4 separate regions of the Homo sapiens genome follow, and all the other regions are linked to region 4. Evidence: promoter capture Hi-C in 16 types of primary human blood cells and fetal thymus (Javierre and others, 2016). All regions are on one chromosome and are shown on one strand. The core of a region is centred on a gene start or on the middle of the fragment in contact, and the rest is flanking DNA. Distances in the headings are between cores, read along the strand shown. Region 1 overlaps FRMD4B (FERM domain containing 4B). Region 2 overlaps FRMD4B (FERM domain containing 4B). Region 3 overlaps FRMD4B (FERM domain containing 4B). Region 4 holds the start of LMOD3 (leiomodin 3).

Region 1 (5,008 bases), core at 533-3,032, 240 kb before region 4:
ATGAATACTATTGAAAAAAAAGGTCGTGTTTGTGCTCTTTTAAGAACTATAGAGTTTTTATCATTAAAGCAACATATGTTAATAAATTTAATTGTTAGAGATATGCATGGCTTAGAACATGAAGGTTCTTTAATGGTTATTAACAGGGCATATATTTGCCAGATATTTTCTAAACCTATAGTGACATACATATCATATCATTATAATATAAATTTTTACAGAGGTGAGATCACCCTATACTTACCTGGCAGGGGAGATACCATGATCACGAGGTGAGATCACCCCACATAATTTATTCTAAAATGTATTTACTTACATGTCTTACATACTGATATATGTCATTATTTTTAATAAGTGTTGTATATTCAATGGTATGAATGAACCATAATTAATTTTTAATAATTACATCAGTCTCCTATTGATGGACATTAAGTTGTTGTCAATTTTTTTTGTTTTTGTTTTTGTTTTTGTTTTTTGAGACAGAGCCTTGCTCTGTTGCCTAGGTTGGAGTGCAGTGATGCAATCTCGGCCCACTGCAACCTCCGCCTCCTGGGTTCAAACAATTCTCCTGCCTTAGCCTCCCAAGTAGCCGGGATTACAAGCCTGTGCCACCATGACCAGCTAATTTTGTGTGTGTGTGTGTGTGTGTGTGTGTGTGTGTGTGTGTGTGTGTGTTTTGTAGAGGTGGGGTTTTTCCATGTTGGCCAGATTGATCTCAAACTCCTGGCCTCAAATGATCTGCCCCCTCCTCAGCCTCTCAAAGTGCTGGGATTACGGGCATAAGCCACCATGCTTGACCTGTTTCTAATTTTTACTAAGACAATGCTACAGTAACCATTCTTATACATAAAACATTTGTGGGAGCATTTCTGTGAAGTGAATACTTTGAAATGATATTGCTGGAATTTGGAAGGAATTTGGTTTTCCGAAAATTCCACAGCTGAGTGCGGTGGCTCACACCTGTAATCCCAGCACTTTGGGAGGCCGAGGCGGGTGTATCACTTGAAGTCAAGAGTTCAAGATGAGCCTGGCCAACATGGTGAAGCCCCGTCTGTAATAATACTAAAATTAGCCAGGCGTGGTGAAGTGCGCATGTAATCCCAGCTATTCAGAGGCTAAGGCAGGAGAATTGCTTGATTCGGGAGGCAGTTTGTGGTGAGTCGAGATTGCTTCACTGCACCCCAGCCTGGGCAACAGAGCAAGACTCCATCTCAAAAAAAAGAAAAAAAACAAAGGTTGTATCTATTTATGCTACTACCAAGTGAATAAGAATCATTCTTGTCCACATTCTAGCTAGCAACTTTGATTTATACCAGTCTGCTGGCCAAAAATGTACATTTTATTTGTTTTTATTTTACTTCATTTATTAGTAGAGATGTCCAATTTCCATAACTTTCTTAAGGACCATGATACTTGGAATACTGGAGTTGTTCTTGCCCGATAACATTGGGGGAAACACATACTGTGTTTTGTCACAGTATAAATTGGTTTGAGAACAATTTTAGAGCCAGACTTGAGAGCAGGTTTTAGTCTCCTAGAGAATATTTGTCATCTCAGAGTGATATGGAATTTCCTTGTATAGTTAAAATAGGTTTATATAGAGCATTGCTGGTTAAAACCCAAGTGCCATAAAGATAGATGTTCACACAGCCTCTCTGTTATGCACTAAAATCTTAAGCTTTAGAAATGGCTGAGAATAGTTATTGCTTTTTATAATCACTATACTATTCGGTTTCATATTGTGGTTTCCTCCTTTACTGTTTAGTGAATTTCAGCAATTTTGTTTTATCTCTTCTGTAAATGGCCTAAACTTCATTTAGATGAACTGAGAAGGAATCACCAAGGCCTTTATTTATTTTTTTAAAAAAACAAGTGAGAAAGCTTGGGGTAGGAGAACAGAATGCTGCACCATTTATTTTTTCTTTTTTGTCTTAGATGCCCAGGGGTTTTTGAGCTTCTTTGGCCATCTAAATTCATATTTATTAACTTAAATATAATTTAACCAGAGTCGAATTGTCTCGATGAGATTTCATAGCCACGAGCGACCATGAAACTGTCATTTGTCTCATTTGGGGAGGCACCAGAACTGATTACTCAGGAGATGATTGAAACTGCTGATCCCATTAATGCCATGGTTATTCTGGAGATAGTGCCCTGAGGGTGAAGATGGGTTGACCCACAGATTTGTTTGTATATAGACTTTAACCAGAGCCAGGCTGACTCAGAGGCAAACTGGAATTGCTGCAGGAAGTTTCCCAATGAATGTTTTTGTCATATTTTTTAGCTGCTCACTCACCACTGGCATACCATTAGCACCCAGTCTCCCTTCTGGAGGTGCCCACCAGGCAGATGGCAAAATGGCAGGTCCCAGCGCATGCTTCCTGCCGTGGCCACCAAGGGGCCAGCTTGTCCTCTGTCTGTCCCCTGGTTCAGCTTGGCTAAACTTGCATGTTCCTGTCTTCTGAGTTTGAGCTAAAAGGACAGGATGTTTGGAAGTCAGAATCATCAAGGCAGTAACTGAGGTGAGTGGGACAGGCAAGATAGTCGCGTGACATAACTTGTTACTTTGCTCCCTGTGGGTTCTCTTGTTTTGTGTTCATTTTCTAAGCCTGATTTAAACATCCATTCTTTGCTTCTTTCATCCTGAGAGGCCTGATTTGGTTCAGGGATCAATATCACCCCCTTGCCCATATAACTTGGGTAAATACTGATTGATTGGTCTCTAACCCAGTGCTTCCCTACTTTCTCTGATGTCATAGAATACACAGAAAATGATAGTGTTTGTGTGGCACCTGGAGTAAATGGAAGAAGCTGCTCAGGCTGGAGGTGATCACCAAATTGTCTCTGGCTGCCTCCAGTCCTGAAAAGACCAATAGCTCAGTACACCTGTTGCCTCAGTACACTGGTTTTGAAGCTGTGGTTGAAGCTAGTCATGATGACCTTATTCCTCTGCCAGGGATTGGTTAAGGGTAAACATAGGACCCAGCTCTGGTCAATGGGGAGCCATTTCTTAAAAAGCTGTCTGTTCTTGAAAATAGGCATGGCTGGGCCAGGTGCAGTGGCTCACGCCTGTAATCCTAGCACTTTGGGAGGCCAAGGCAGGCGGATCACGAGGTCAGGAGATTGAGACCATCCTGGCTAACATGGTGAAATTCCGTCTCTACTAAAAATACAAAAAATTAGCCAGGCGTGGTGGCAGGCGCCTGTAGTCCCAGCTACTCGGGAGGCTGAGGCAGGAGAATGGCGTGAACCCAGGAGGCGGAGCTTGCAGTGAGCTGAGATTGTGCCACTGCACCCCAGCCTGGGCAACAGAGCAAGACTCCGTCTCAAAAAAAAAAAAAAAGGCATGGAGGCCAGGTGCAGAGGCTCATACCTATGATCCCAACACTTTGGGAGGTCAAGATGGGAGGATCACTTGAGCTCAGGAGTTCAAGACCAGCCCGGGCAACATGGCAAGACCCATCTCTATTTAAAAAAAAAAAAAAAACATGGTAAAAAGAAGTGATCCTTTTTTTTGGAGTGGAGATGTGAGAGCTTCAAGGATGGCAGCTATATTGCAACCATGAGGGAATGTTACGTAAGAAGAATGGGCCGGGTGGAAAAATAGAAGAAGCCTGGGACTTTTACGATATTGCTAATCTGTTGACCTCACCAACCTTGGCACTGCCCTACCTGGAGATACTGAGAATATAGATCCATATTATTAAAGTTATTTTCACTTTTTGTTTGTTTTTTTTTTTTTTACTGTAAAAAGCATTCTGATACAATATAAGCTCAGGACTTGAAGGTCAGGACTTATAGAAGAATTGTCCAACAACAACAACAAAAGTATTCAAAATGAAAAACTTTTTAGGAAACATATAATAAAAATTGGAGATGTGCTGATATAAGGAAAATGTTTAAGTTCAGAATAAGATGGGCAGGAATAGAAAGAAATTGTTTAAAATTCACAGTTCTTTATTTTAAAAAGTATGGGATTTTTAAATTAACATGATAGTTTGTTTTTGTTTTTTGTTTGTTTTTTTGGGGGGGGGGTTGGCTTTTTGTTGTTGTTGTTTTGAGATGGAGTCTCACTCTGTCACCCAGGCTGGAGTGCAGTGGCACGATCCCGGCTCACTGCAACCTCCGCCTTCCAGTTTCAAGCGATTCTCCTGCCTCAGCTTCCTGAGTAGCTGGAATTACAGGCATGCGCCACCGTGCCCAGCTAATTTTGTACTTTTAGTAGAGATGGGGTGTTACCATGTTGGTCAGGCTGGTCTCGAGCTCCTGACTTCGTGATAGTTGTCTTAACCAGAAATATTTACCAGTGTCTCAGTGAAATGCTAGAGAACTGGAAAGGATTCCAATTAACAATTGTGAGAGGCAGAAGAGCACACAAGTCAAGAGCCTGAAATTTGGAGCCAAACTGTGTAGGTTCAAAGCCTTCATCTGCTACTTCCTGGCTGTGATTTCATGTAAGTTATTTAACCTCTCTATGCCTCAGTGTTCTCATCTGTAAAATGGAGATAATAATAATAGTCCCGACCTCAAAGTTATTGTGGAGTTTATATTTATAATAAACAGGAACAGAGTATGGCACATATGAAGTACTATATAAGTGCTTGTTATTATTAATCTACAATTATCACCTAAACCTATACCTGTGCAAACAAAAAGTCACTTAAACACAAATGCTTCTACTACTTCACAGTCACTAAAATAACTAAAATTAAGAAGACCTATAATACCACATTTTGGCAAAGATGTGGGATAACCAGATCTCTCATATATTGGCAGTGTAAAATGGTATGACCTTTTAGGAAATTATTTGGCAGTTAAACGTACATTCATCCTATGATCTGTTAGCTCTATTCATGCACATTTATTCAAGAGAAATGAAAACATATGCATGTGCACACACATGCATACACACACAGCTTGTAAAAGAATATTCATAGCTTATAACTTCTAATACCCCCAAACTGAGAACAACTGATTTCCATTAACAAGAGAGGAGATAAATAAACTA
Region 2 (4,794 bases), core at 1,268-3,767, 160 kb before region 4:
GGAAGGGAAGCCATGGGCCAAGAGATGCCCAGTGGAGCCTGGCTCCTCCCTTGTACGTTCTGATCTCAATGCCTGGGAATCTCAGAATTCCCTATCCAGACTGTATACCTGTTTCCAGGCCTTCTTTTAGGGTTATTGAGCATGTTATGTGTTCATTTTACCTCTTTTGTTGGATTATTAGCTATAACTCTTTGTTGTTTCCATGGTTACTTTAGGGTTTATAGTATACACATTTTTAACTTATCAAGTCTACCTTCAAGATGATATTATACCACTTCACATGTAGCATAAGAATCTTACAGTAGTATACTTCCATTTCTCTCCTCTCAGCCTTTATGCGATTGATGTCATACAATTTACTTTTAGATAAGTTACAGATGCACATGACATTATTATTTTTGTGTAAATATTCAATTAACTTTAAAGAGATTTAAACAGTACCAAAAGTCTTACATATTTACCCATGGAGTTAGCATTTCTGTTGCTCTTCATTCACTTGTGTAGGTTAATATTTCTGTCTGTTATGATTCTTTCTGCCTGGAGGACTTCCTTTAGCATTTCTTATAGTGTGGGCATACTAGTGGTGAATTCCTTCAGCTTGTACCTGAAGACATCTTTATTTGCCTTTGGTTTTAGAAGATAATTCACATGATATAGGATTCTTGTTGGCAGTTTTTCTCTCTCCGTACTTTAGAAATACTGATTCACTATCTTCTTGCTTGCATTGTTTCTGATGAGAAGTCTGCTGTCATCTTTATCTTTGTGTTTCTGTATGGAATATCTTTTTCTTTAGCTGCTTTTAAATTTTTCTCTTTTTTCTTTTTTCTGCTTTGAGCAATTATTTTTTTTTTCTTTTTGAGATGGAGTCTCGCTTTGTTGCCCAGGGTGAAGTGCAGTGGTGCCATCTCAGATCACCGCAACTTCTGCCTGCCAGGTTCAAGCAATTCGCCTGCCTCAGCCTCCCGAGTAGCTGGGACTATAGGTGTGCACCACCGCACCCGGCTAATTTTTGTATTTTTTGTAGCAATGGGGTTTCGCCATATTGGCCAGGCTGGTCTCAAACTCCTGACCTCAGGTGATCCACCTGCCTCGAGCCTCCCAAAGTGCTGGGATTATAGGCATGAGCCACTGTGCCTGGCCTGCTTTGAGGATTTTTATTATGAGGTGCCTTGGTATAGCTTTCTTCATGTGTTTGTGTATGTGTGTGTGTCATTGGCATTTATTGAGCATCTTGGCTTATAGTTGTCATCAAATTCGGAAACATTTTAGCCGTTATTTCTTCAGGTTTTTTTTTTTTTTTTTTGGCCTCATGTATGCCTCATTTGCAAAGCCCAATTACACATACGCTTGGCCACTTGAACTTGTCACATAGTAATGCTTTGCATTTGTGGGGATTTGGGGGAATATGATATCTTGTATAGTTTCTCTTGCTTTGTCTTCAGTTTCCCTCATCTGTTTTTTGCAATCTAATCTGCCATTAATCCCATTTTGTATATTAGAGTTTTTGTTTTTGTTTTTTTGTTTTGTTTTATTTTTTGAGACAGAGTCTCACTCTTGTTGCCCAGGCTGGAGTGCGGTGGCACAGTCTTGGCTCACCACAACCTCCACCTCCTGGATTGAAGTGATTCTCCTGCCTCAGCCTCCCGAGTAGCTGGGATTACAGGCATGTGCCAACACACCTGGCTAATTTTTTGTATTTTTAGTAGAGATGGTGTTTCACCATGTTGGCCAGACTGGTCTCAACCTCCTGACCTCAGGTGATCCTCCCACCTCAGCCTCCCAAAGTGCTGGGATTTACAGGCATGAGCCACCATGCTCGGCCTTAGAGTTTCTATCTTTAGAGGTTTGATTTGGATCCTTTTTACATCTTGCATGTGACTATTTAACTTTTTAAGCATATTAAATATAGTTATAATAATTGTTTTAATGCCTTTGTCTGTTTATCCTAATGTCTGTGTCAGTTCCGGGTATTTTTGATTGATTTTTGTCTTTGTTATGGGTCATGTTTCTCTGCCTATTTGCATGCCTGGCAATATTTGGTAGGATGGTAGGCATTATTAATTGTATCTTTTTGAATGCTATATATTTTTTGTGTTCCTATAAATATTCTTGATGTTTGGTTTTGGGATGCAGTTTAGTTGATTGAATATGGTTTGGTTTTTTTCAGGTCTTGCTTTTATGATTTGTTAGTCTAGCCCAGAGCAGTGCACATTCTATAGCTAATTGTTCTGCATACTGATCTTCCTGAGTACTCTATTCAATGCCCCATGAATTATGAGTTTTTTATTCTGGCTGGTGGGAATAGGCACCACCTCCAGCCCTGTAAGGATGAGGCACTCTTCCCTCTTATCCTTTCAGATGGTCTCCAACTTTGGGTAGTTTCTTTTCATGCATGGAATGATGAGTGCTCTACCGAATCCTCAGAGGAGACCCTCTATAGATTTTCAGGGGTTCTCTCTCTTCGCAGCTCTCTTTTCTCTGGCAGACTGTTCTGCAAATTCTATTCATTTTGATCTCCCAGACTAAGGAGTTGCTGCATCTCCTTAGCTCAGGGAGTTCACTGTGTTCTGCTGTGTTTCTCCCTCCACAGCCTGGAGCCCTCTCTTGACAGTACTGGGGGCAGTCATAGGGCTCGCCTTGTTCAAGGTTCACTATCTTCGTTGCTGGATATTCAGTGTTATGAAAACTGTTGTTTTATATATTTTGTCTGTTTTTTGTTTTTTTTGTTTTGTTTTGTTTTGTTTTTTCAGTTAAGAGGATAAATTCAGTCCCTGTTACTCCATCTTGGCTGGAAGTGTAAATATTCGAAGCAGAGTTTTTGGCTGAGTCTATCGGGAAAGTAAAATGTTCCCAGCATCAAAGGCTTTACTACAGCCCTCTTTTCTGAGATTCAGGTTTTCCTAAGAACTCTAAGGGTTGACTGATGAGTAGACACCTATATAACAAACACAGCTTTTCAAACACAGCATTTACTGAGTCAGGAACACGTTTCATAAACCACAGTTGGCTATCCTCTCCTATGTGGAGACATACAATCGCTCCTTGTAATATTTTTCACTGCCTAGTTGGCATTGATCAAGTGTTTTCTCTGTTGCTAATGCAAAGGTGGTTAGAATGAAGATTTTCAACTCATGACGTTTCTCTTGTACCTCTGCATGCTAAATTCTGTTTGTCTTGAGAAAGCAAGGAAAAGCAGAATTCCTTTAAATGCTACTGCATTTCATGAATGTCAGTTGCTAGGAGCACCTTTCTTTCTTTTTTTTTTTTTTTTGTTGTTGTTGCTTTTTTGTTTTTTGTTTGTTGTTGTTGTTGTTTTGAGATGGAGTTTCACTCTTGTTGCCCAGGCTGGAGTGCAATGGTGCAATCTCAGCTCACTGCAACCCCTGCCTCCTGGGCTCAAGCGATTCTCTGCCTCAGCTTCCCGAGTAGCTGAGATTACAGGCGCCTGACACCACGTCCAGCTAATGTTTTGTATTTTTAGTAGAGATGGGGTTTCACCATGTTGGCCAGACTGTTCTCAAACTCCTGACCTCAAGTGATTCACCCACCTCGGCCTCCCAAAGTGCTGGGATTACAGGTGTGAGCCACAGCGCCTGGCCTGGGAGCTCCTTTCTAAATGGGAGTGTTTCATGACTTGTCAAATAATTTAGAACTTTTACAGAACATAATATTGTAAGGCACTATGACTGTTATTGAGATAATTTTTTAAATTTTATTTGTAGGAATTTAGAGTGGGATATTTTCTATCTAATTATTATGCAGATGGCTGGGTGTGGTAGCTCACACCTGTAATCCCAACACTTTGGGAAGCCAAGGCGGGTGGATCACTTGAGGTCAGGAGTTCGTGACCAGCCTGGCCAACATGGTGAAACCCTGTTTCTACAAAAATACAACAATTAGCTGGGTGTGGTGGTGGGCGCCTGTAATTCCACCTACTCCGGAGGCTGAGGCAGGAGAATCGCTTGAACCTGGAAGGCAGAGGTTGCAGTGAGCCAAGATCACACTACTGCACTCCAACCTGGCAACAGAATGAGACTCCATCTCCAAATATACGTATATAAAATGTAGATGGCTGGTAACAAATTCTAAGAGATGTTCCAGGATCAGGTAGCTGTTTGGATAAAGCAGCTTTCAAGCAATTTCTTAAGATGTATGATTGTTTGAGAACATTCCACATAAGGAATATCAGCTGAACCATGGCCACAGAGACAAATAAGTTTTATGAGAACATAGTTTCAGCTGTAGAACACTCGTAGGTGGATTTATTGATTGGCAAAAGTGAGTCACTGATGGTTGGTAGCTGCTGTTAACTCAGGACTCACAGCTAGATCTGAAAGTGAACGGGCCCCCCCTCCACACTGCACAGAGGGCATTCTTCTCTCCAGTGAGATGTTTGACACCTCTGATCACACCCTACACACATTTCTTCTCTGCCAGACAGCTTTCGCCTACAGCTACTTCCTTCCTTCCACTGAGAACAGAAATACACAGGCAAGAAAAGAGAGCTCTTATTTGCAAATACTGATAAAACCACAATGTCTTCTTACATACTTGTTTAGTAAGAAATATGACTTATGATAAGATTTGATACAGTTGCTGAAGCTCTGCACAGCTACATAAATACGGATTTATAAAATTCAGCCTCATGAGTATGTCATTTGAAAAACTGGGTGGCTCTCAATGGGTTCTGTAAATATCATTGCCCATACGGCATAGAGAATAAGCCATTGGTGACACTTCAATGTGTTGAAAGAAACAATTGTGCCTCGTTTCTGAGTTTGGGTATCCAGCATG
Region 3 (4,818 bases), core at 391-2,890, 210 kb before region 4:
TAGGAAGATCATTTGAGCTCAGGCGTTCAAGGCTGCAGTGAGTCATGATCACGCCACTGCACTCCAGCCTGGGCAATGGAGTGAGACCCTGTCTCAAAATAAATAAAGAAAAAGAAAAGAAAGGAACTCCCATCAGGAGTCTTGTCTCATTTACCTTTGTGACCACAAGGGAGGAAGAAGTCCCTGGGGAGTCAGACAGGTATGATACCTGATCTTGGCCATCCTCACCTGAGGCCGGTGACTTCAGGCAAGGCATGTGCCCTCTCTGAGTAGCTGCTTCTTTGGGCCTCAGTGACCTCATCTGTAAAATGAGGGTATGACATTTCTGGCACATTGAGACTCCTTGTAAAGTTCAAAAGAGGAAATAGAGGTGAAAGCACTTCAAAAATTTGAGGCACTCCAGACAGGTGAGGTGATGATGGAACATTCAGACTAGGTTTTATGTGGCCAGACCTGCCTGCTCCCTTCTCTTCTGCAAGGTCCAGGGACAGAGTGGAACCTGCTCACCACCTGCCCGGCACCTGAACATGGCCTGTGGGAGCTTTCATCCTGAAGGAGTCTGTATCAATTGCTTGGTGTTTTTTTGTTTGTTTGTTTTTTTCTGAGATGGAGTCTTGCTGTGTCGCCCAGGCTGGAATGCAGTGGCGTGATCTCAGCTGACTTTAACCTCCCTCTCCTGGGTTCAAGCAATTATCTGCCTCAGCATCCCGAGTGGCTGGGATTACAGGCACCAGCCACTGCGCTAGGCTAATTTTTGTATTTTTAGTAGAGACAGGGTTTCACCATCTTGGCCAGGCTGGTCTTGAACTCCTGACCTCTTGATCCACCCACCTCGGCCTCCCAAAGTGCTGGGATTATAGGCGTGAGCCACCATGCCCAGCCAATTACTTGTTGTTTGTTAGTGAAAAGTATAATATTATTAATAATTATTAATATTACCATTTATAGAGTGTGTCCTCTGCCAAGCATTTTATACATCTTATCTCATGTGAGCCACCCAGCCCTGGGAAGTGAGTGTGCTTTTAGTATCTCCATTTTCAGACAAGAAAACCAAGGGTCAAGAGAAGTGAGGTAACCTATACAAGGTCACACAGTAGTATAGAGCAGAGCTGGGATTTAAGTCCAAGTCTGTGCTCTTGACCCTGACACTTCTTAAATAATACACTGTACTTTAAAAAGTAATAATATGGAATGCTAACAGTGCACTAGGCAAAATTATCTCCATTTTACAGCAGCTACTCAGAGAGGATACATGACTTGCCTAAAGTCACCAGCTAGTTAGAGGGCAGGCCAGCATCAGATATCATACCTGTCTGACTCCCCAGGGGCTGCTCCCAACCACCGCCCTACGCCGAGGGGCTGAGTGGCCAGCTGCACCCAGTATTATCCCTCTGCCTAAAGCAAGAGTGACCAAAATTTCAAATTCTGGAATTTAAGGACTCCTCAATGAGTTTGCATAATCCCCTGTCCAGGCCACTCTTACCAGAAGCACCAACGCTTTTTTGAGTGATCCTACTCTACCCTCCCCACCCTTCAGAAATACTGTTTAAGAGGAAGTCTAAGAAACAGCTTTGAGATAGGGACACGGGGGAAAATATTTGGTTCCCTGGATACAGCCTCAAGTGTTGGTTGAGATTTCCTCTCACAAGACACGTTCGTTCCTTCTGATGGAGGCAGAACGGAACTGAGATTAGAATAGAGCAGGAACAGAAGTGGGAGAAACTTGCCGACAGAGCATAATGACATGTGCTCAAATCTGCTTGTGAATGAAAAAGTTGGAAACATCTTCCACCGGTGCTTTAAGGTCATGGCAGCCTCCTTCAGCAGGGAAAAGATTCCAGAAAGATAGCAGCAACACAACTGGGAGGCATCTAGCAATTCAGCGGCAAAAGAGGCCGGGCGTGGTGGCACACGCCTGTAATCCCAGCACTTTGGGAGGCTGAGACAGGAGGATCACTTAAGCCCAGGAGTTCAAAACCAGCCTGGGCAACATAGTGAGACCCTGTCTCTATTATAAAATACATAGATAAGGAAAAAAAAAAGGCGGCCAGGCACAGTGGCTCACGTCTGTAATCCCAGAACTTTGGGAGGCTGAGGCGGGCAGATCACGAGGTCAGGAGTTCGAGACCAGCCTGACCAACATGATGAAACCCTGTCTCTACTAAAAATACAAAAATTAGCCAGGTATATTTCCGCACACCTGTAATCCCAGCTACTCAGGAGGCTAAGGCAGGAGAATCACTTGAACCCAGGAGGCAGAGGTTGCAGTAAGCCGAGATCACCCCATTGCACTCCCGCCTGGGTGACAGAGTAAGACTCCGTCTCAAAAAAAAAAAAAAAAAAAAAAAAGGCAAAAGAATCAAAATATAATGTTGTATACCTTGAATATATATAATATTAAAAAAAAAAAAAGACAAAGGAGTCACTCAGCTGCCAATGGGACCTTCAAAGTAGAAATGGGTAGAAAATTCAGAAGGAGAGCAGGAGATGGAAATGAAGGAAAATCAACTCATTTGTTCATTCCACAAATATTTGTCGAGCCCCAGGATGAGCTAAGCACTGTCTTAGGGGCTAGGAAAACACCAGGAAATGAAACAAATCTCTGCATTTGTGGAACTTACATTCCAGTGGCAAAAGAGCTGGAAAGGCAAATGACACAGAGGATCTGATATGAGAGTTGCCATCCAAGGTCAGGAGACCTTCATCAGTGAGCTATGCACTGTGGATTTCTTGAAGTATAATAATAAATTTATTTTTAACTTTTAGGTTTGGGAGGTTCATGTGAAGGTTTGTTACACAGGTAAACTCGTGTCATAGGGGTTTATTGTACAGATTATTTCATCACCCAGGTATAAAGCCCAGTACCCAATAATAAATTATAACAAATCCCGGCACTTTGGGAGGCTGAGGCAGGCAGATCACCTGAGGTCAGGAGTTTGAGACCAGCCTGGTCAACATAGTGAAACCCCGTCTCTACTAAAAATACAAAAAAAAATTAGCCAGGCCTGGTGGCGGGCGCCTGTAATCCCAGCTACTCGGGAGGCTGAGGCAGGAGAATTGCTTGAACCCAGGAGGCAGAGGCTGCAGTGAGCCAAGATCACACCATTGCACTCCAGCCCAGGTAACAGTGTGAGACTCCATCTCAAAAAAAAAAAAAAAAAAAAAAAAAAAAATTAGCTGGGCATGGTGGTGCATGCCTGTAGTCCCAGCTACTTGGGAGGCTGAGGTAGGAGAATTGCTTGAACCCGGGAGGGAGAAGTTGCAGTGAGCAGAGATTGCGCTACTGCACTCCAGCCTGGGTGACGGAATGAGACTCTGTCTCAAAACATAAAAATAAAAATAAAGAAATAAATTATAATAGTCACCTTTATGTTGGCCTCTGTTCGCCAAGTTCTATGCACAACAACCCTGGAAGGTATTAGTAAATCTATTTTAGAGATTTAAAATAGTAAGTCCTACTAAAGTTAAGTAAGCTGGGCTTCAAACAGAATTCTCTGTAAACCTGAAGCCTCTGTTTGTTCATCTTTATCACGTGGTCTCTCAACGGCCTCCACATCCTGAGTGTTCTGACCATCACTTTCTCCACTGGTATGCTGGTAAATGTTTCTCAGCTGTTACTGGAAAGTGGTCCTGATCCAGAGCCCAAGAGTTCTTAGATCTCGAGCAGGAAAGAATTTAGGATGAGTCCATAGAGTAAAGTGAAAGCAAGTTTATTAGAGAAGTAAAGAAACAAAAGAATGGCCACTCCATAGGCAGAGCAGCACCGAGAGCTGCTAGATGGCTATTTTTATGATTATTTCTTGATCATATGCTAAACAAGGGGTGGGTTATTCATGAATTTTCCAGGAAACAGGCAGGCAGTTCCCAGAAGTGAGGGTTCCTTCCCTTTTTAGACAATATAGGGTAACTTCTGGATGTTGCCATGGCATTTGTAAACTGTCATGGTGCTGGTGAGAGTGTCTTAAAGCATGCAATTGCATTATAATTAGTGTATAATGAGCAGTGAGGACTACCAGAGGTCTTTTTTCATCACCATCTTGGTTTTGGTGGGTTTTGGCTGGCTTCTTTGCTGTGTCCTGTTTTATCAGCTGAGTCTTTATGACCTGTATCTTGTGATACCAGCCCTGCTGACCTCCTATCTCATCCTGTGACTAAGAATGCCTGACCTCCTGTGAATGCAGCCCAGTAGGTCTCAGCCTTATTTTACCCAGGTCCTATTCAAGATGGAGTCACTCCAGTGCAAACACCTCTGACACAACCAGCTCTGGGGAAAAAGGGACACTGATTTGCAACACTTGCCATTTTCTGTGGTGTAAATACTCTCACCTTGACTGACTTACTGATCTGGGAAGAGACGAGCAGTAGCATATCATTAAATGGTGTTACTTCCATGCAGATTCAATAACCACAAGAGCAAAGGTCATAGTAAATGTAGTAAAACAATTGGAAAGTGAAGAGTTTTATTACCTTTGCTTTTAATGCGATTTATTTCATTGTAAGTTCATATTAGTTGTACCTAACAACCAGCTTGAAAATGGGACAGTGGGCTTTCGTGAGTGGCCAAGAGCCAGCTCTCCACCACCATTCTGTCTCTCAAAAGATCTTTCCTCCCAGTTATGTTCCCTGGTGCTTGCCAATAAATCTTTTTTTTCTTAACTCCTTTTTCATATTTCTATGTTCTCCTGACCTGTGGCTTCCAGTTTTGTTGTTTTGTTTTAATCGTTGAATCCCACATTGGCTTCAAAAAGAGTCTGAATCCCATTTAAAAACACAGCCTGCATTAGGTGACAAGGAAGCTTCATGACTAAATAATATAAG
Region 4 (5,237 bases), core at 2,020-4,519:
ATAAAGCCTCATATATATGTATAAAACCTCATTTAATTTTCTCAATAATTGCATATGGTAGACATTATTATCAGATATGGGCTAAGTTGCTCAGTATCACCTAAGTTAGGAATGGAGCTGACACTGAAATCCAGGTATACTGACTCCAGAGGCTGCTCTTTAATATTTAGCTCTGTATTTCCCAAAATATGAATTATTTAAGATTGGGGAGGGTTAGGTTAAAAAACTGGTTTCTTTAGTGTAGAATTTCTCAGAGTTTCTCAAAGCTAATTGTGCTTTACAAATATCTAAAACACAAATGCAGAATATAACATTTCCCAAGCCTCCCTGAACAAAATTGATTTGTTGTTCTTGTTTTGTTTTGTTTTGTTTTTGTTTTGACTGAATCTCTTTAGATCATTGTTCTGCAAAGAAAACTCTATGAAATGATGGTCCACAAATCAGTGGTCTACAAAGTGGTCTACCTCCCTGCCCACCAAGGCTCAACTCTTCCCCCTTTTACAGGGACTAAAAGAAGACCTGGCCAGGCATGGTGGCTCACGCCTGTAATCCAGCACTTTGGAAGGCCGAGATGGGCAGATCACCTGAGGTCAGGAGTTCAAGACCAGCCTGGCCAACATGGTGAAAACCCATCTCTACTAAAAATACAAAAATTAGCCGGGTGTGGTGGTACACGCCTGTAGTCTCAACTACTGGGGAGGCTGAAGCACAAGAATCACTTGAACCCAGGAGGCAGAGGTTGCAGTGAGCCGAGATCATACCACCGTACTCCAGCCTGGGCAATAGAGTGAGACTCAGTCTCAAAAAAAAAAAAAAAAAAAAAAAAGAAGAAGAGAAGACCTGATAGGCGAGAGGCCAGGGATAAGTTGCCAGTACATAACTGTGTCCTTTGAAAATTCTCATTCAAGTAAATTGGAAATACCTTTCTGGGGCATTAATTACATATGAAAAGCCTTTCAACCTGGAATGCTCAAGATAAAACACTAGGGTAGGAAGAAAATATTATAACTTTCATTTCAAACTCACACTTGATTTGATTTTTTTTTTCTTCCTTTTTCACAAATTTTATCAATAAAATATCCTTGGACAGATACACAAGAAACTAAAATCCTTGGATACTTTTGGAGAAAGGAATGGGGGTGTCTCAAGTTTCAAACTTACATATATATGAAATGTTGGAATGGTAACATGTATATCTGTTTGTTTGTTTTTATTTATTTATTTTAAGATGGAGTCTTGCTCTGCCACCCAGGCTGGAATGCAGTTGTGTGATCTCAGCTCACTGCAGCCTCTGCCTCCCAGGTTCAGGTGATTCTCTGCCTCAGCTTCCCGGGTAGCTGGGGCTACAGGTGCCTGCTACCACGCCTGGCTAATTTTTGTATTTTTAGTAGAGATAGAGTTTTGCTATATTGGCCAGGCTGGTCTTGAACTCCTGACCTCAGGTGATCTGCCCGCCTCGGCCTCCCAAAGTGCTGGGATTACAGGCATGAGCACGGCGCCCGGCCAACATGTATAGTATTTGTAAATATTTAATATAAGTAGATTGGAGATGGGTCCTAGTAGGTTGGTGCAAAAGTAATTGTGATTTTTGCTGTTACTTTAATCTACATATAAAAAGTATTTAATTTCTTCGTATTCTGTGACCTAGCAATTTCACTTTTTAGAATTTGTTCAATTTACTCTAAAGAAATAAACTTGTGTGTTTATAAACTATTTAGGTATAGGGATATTTATTAAAGAACTATTTGTGCTTGTGAGAATTGAAAACATTCTAAATATCCAACAATTGAGGATTGGTTATACAAATTATGGTACATCCATATAAAGAATCCTAACAGAGGGCAATAAAAAATTATTTAGTAGTAGAGTACACAGTTGCCTAGAAAAAAAGAATCCTGACTTTCTCAGTCAAAAAAACAGATGAGAAAAAATGATAGAGTTTGTATGCCTAAAAGAAAGGACTGGAATGAAAAAACTGAAATGTTAATAGTGGTAGCTTCACAGTGAGGTAAGGGGAAGATTTTGTTCTGTGCCTTTCTATGTTATCCTAACTCTTGTACAATGAATGTATATTTCGGAATAAGAATATATTTACGAGCCAGGCACGGTGGCTCACGCCTGTAATCCCAGAACTTTGGGACACCGAGGCAGGTGGATTGCTTGAACTCAGAAATTCGAGACCAGCCTGAGCAATATGGCAAAACCCTGTCTCTACAAAAAATACAATTAGCTGGGTGTAGTGGTGCATGCCTGTGGTCCCAGCTTGATCCTGGGAGGCAGAGGTTGCAGTGAGCTGAGATCGCAGCACTGCCCTCCAGCCTGGGTGACAGAGCCAGACCCTGTCTTAAATATATATATAATAAAACTTGTATATTATATATTATTGTACCCTTTGTCACACAAATAATGGCATGTAAAACACACTGTTTTGTACTTTGCTATATTGTGTAACCTTGTACACACGTTGTTTCACCCATGTAGGGGTATATCTGTAGGATACACTTCTCAAAGTGGAATTGCTGGGTCAAAGGAAATGGGCATTTGTAATTTGGACAAATGTTGCATATTGCCCCTTCAGGGTTTGAAAACAAAATCTTCTCATAGTTTCTTTTAGTATATTAGTGGTCTGGATTTCTTTTTTAACACTTCACTTTAGAGCCATTTTCATTGATATTGGCTTAATGGATACTTAATAAGAAAAGCAAATAATTTAAAATATTAAACTCACTTATAGTGGAAATCCAAGTGCTGGTTGTCCCCATCTGTTAGATCACAGGATCTAGATGCAAACAGGACATCTTGCAAAGGTTCGGCTTACACAGAGGATGAGTGACATAGCAAGACCTCTGTTCCACTGTGCACCACTTTATTTGCTTCCACACTCACCTTGTAGGGAAGAGGCAGACCCTAAGAGCTTGATTTCTACCTTCAAGTGAATTCTTTACTTCAGAAACAACTCAGGTTGCTGGTTGGATTTCCCTTCTGAAATATTGTAAGTTGCTTTAATATTTAAATAAAAACAAGTGGAATCCCCTGGAGTATTGGGGTATGTATGTATGAGCTGCATGAATTTGTGTATGGCAATATGATGGCATATAGGAAGATAATTAATTTTATTCCTGCAGAGATTCTGTAGTCTCTGCTAGTCTCTGGCAAACATAGCAGCTGTACTGAAATGTCAGATGGATTTGCGCAGCTGACTCAAGTTGCCAAAAAGAGAGCAGCATAGTTGTTCCATAAATTGACCCCATCCAGCCAAGCCCTGCTTAATATAGATCCGGCAAGAGCTTAGCTGTGATCACTCCTAGCTGCTCAGCAAACCACTGAGGTTCCTGGGAAAAAAAAAAAAATATCTCAAGGGTGTGTTAACTTGGGACACTCGTTAACTGGGGGACCTTCTTGAGGCTTTTTTCCTTCTTTTTAAAAATCATCTTTGATTATTCTTCTTTTCTAGTAAAATAATATTTAGAAAAAATAATGTCAGAGCACAGCAGAAATTCAGATCAAGAAGAACTTCTCGATGAGGAGATTAATGAAGATGAAATCTTGGCCAACTTGTCTGCTGAAGAACTGAAAGAACTGCAGTCGGAAATGGAAGTCATGGCCCCTGACCCCAGCCTTCCCGTGGGAATGATTCAGAAAGATCAAACTGACAAGCCACCGACAGGAAACTTCAATCATAAATCTCTTGTTGATTATATGTATTGGGAAAAGGCATCCAGGCGCATGCTGGAAGAGGAACGAGTTCCTGTCACCTTTGTGAAATCCGAGGTAACCAGAGATTTGTGTACAACCGAGAAATGGCTGCCTGGGATGGGCTGTTAGGTCTCTCTGTTGTAACTGTGATTTCTCAAGACTCCAGGGTTTGGTTCTGCTTTGTTTTTGCCATATCTAGATTAAACCATAATATTTAATCCTACTCCGACTGGAACTTTCTGAAACACATTTATATTTACAAGGGGAAAATTGGGTAATTTCTTGCAAATGTCTCTTTTTAAAAATTGCTGTCGGGTTTGCTGTGTCAGAAAGCCTGTGTTCTATTGCCACGATACTTAGTGACTTAACTCATAACCCAGAGGCAGTTGTCCTTACCTCTCTCTTTCTTTTTTATTGCAGGCCCCTTTGAGAAAGTAATGACAGCTCTGTAGCCTCTGTCTCTCTGGCACATCCAAACATACGCAGTGTTTCGCACACAGTGTCAAACATTTCAGTCCTCCTGAAGTCTGGCCACACAACCTGCAATTAAACCAAGTCGAATAACCAGAAAATGTCTTATATTATTACTATGTATTGGCTGTCAGTGATGACATTTAGAAATCGATGGCTATTAAGTGGTTTTGAAGCTAGTTCTTCACTTTCTAAAACCTGAAAGCTAGAATTGTTAACTCTGCAAACTTACTGTGCATGAGCATAATTTTTTTTTTTATGTTCCACTTGAAAATGACTTAACAAAAAGAGGACAGAGATGCCTCCTAGGTAAAGTCTCTTTAGGTTATGCCTGTTTACAAAGATACATCTTGTTAAATTACTCTGAAGCTGGCTGTAATTAAGGAAAGTTGTCAATTGGTTTTACAGTCAGTAGAGTTTAAACATGTGCTAAGATTAAGAAAAGAAACAGCTGGATTGATCAGGTTAGAGTTCAAGGTACAATTTGCAGATTTTTTACAACTGGAGATCAATGGATGAAAAGCCAATTCTATGTGAATGCCAGTTTCAGGGGGTAAAAACGAGTACTTGCAACATGTTTTTCCTTCCTCTGGTATAACTTGAACAGCTTGATGGTTGGCTCCCCCTTCTGGTCAAGGTGAGAAATGCAGTGGTGAAGACTTCAGGTGGTTAAGGTGACTTGTCACTGTCTCTTCTGACCTATGTTATGAGCATGAAATTTTTGCTCAAATGAACCTGTGTCTCAACTTGCTATACTGGCTTTCAAAATGATATCTATGAGGCCCACAAGTTGCATAGAAAAGCATTATAATTGATGTGCAAGAATCTAATACATATTATTGATAAAAGGCCCATTTTATTTCCCAGACTAAGCAATTATTTCTCAATGTCTGCATAATCCTGTTTCATCTTACAGCTGGCCCTGGTTCCTAGGCACTTTCTTTCACAAGAAACTGGGATAGTAAACTTGTCCTAGACAGAGTATCATGGCAGTTGTCAAAGAACTGAAAAAATAGAATCAAAATTGAGGTTTTAAATATATATATGTATATATATATATTCAAAATCAA

The links. The method cuts DNA at HindIII sites, captures the fragments that hold promoters and counts their contacts. A CHiCAGO score of 5 or more calls a contact.
Region 1: a fragment that was not itself captured here is called in contact with the fragment with the promoter of LMOD3 in region 4 in 1 of 17 cell types (activated CD4 T cells); the score reaches 5.6 in activated CD4 T cells.
Region 2: a contact is called between a fragment that was not itself captured here and the fragment with the promoter of LMOD3 in region 4, in 1 of 17 cell types (neutrophils). The highest score is 6.5, in neutrophils.
Region 3: a fragment that was not itself captured here is called in contact with the fragment with the promoter of LMOD3 in region 4 in 5 of 17 cell types (neutrophils, activated CD4 T cells, total CD4 T cells and 2 more); the score reaches 11.7 in neutrophils.

The regions. Positions count from the first base shown.
Region 1 is chr3:69,361,728-69,366,735 of GRCh38, reverse strand. The region is part of intron 1 of FRMD4B (FERM domain containing 4B); the gene reads left to right. Among named protein-coding and RNA genes, the nearest start is that of FRMD4B, 22 kb to the left of the region's middle. The HindIII fragment of the contact is 203 bases long and covers 1,681-1,883 here.
Region 2 is chr3:69,281,907-69,286,700 of GRCh38, reverse strand. The region is part of intron 5 of FRMD4B (FERM domain containing 4B); the gene reads left to right. Among named protein-coding and RNA genes, the nearest start is that of FRMD4B, 100 kb to the left of the region's middle. The HindIII fragment of the contact is 9,726 bases long and covers 1-4,794 here.
Region 3 is chr3:69,327,872-69,332,689 of GRCh38, reverse strand. All of the region lies in intron 1 of FRMD4B (FERM domain containing 4B), which reads left to right. Among named protein-coding and RNA genes, the nearest start is that of FRMD4B, 56 kb to the left of the region's middle. The HindIII fragment of the contact is 6,316 bases long and covers 1-4,798 here.
Region 4 is chr3:69,120,627-69,125,863 of GRCh38, reverse strand. LMOD3 (leiomodin 3) reads left to right here and starts at 3,269. Exons shown (of 3, transcript NM_198271.5): 1 at 3,269-3,771. The coding sequence starts at 3,478. RefSeq lists an enhancer at 3,215-4,414. The HindIII fragment of the contact is 5,880 bases long and covers 1-5,237 here.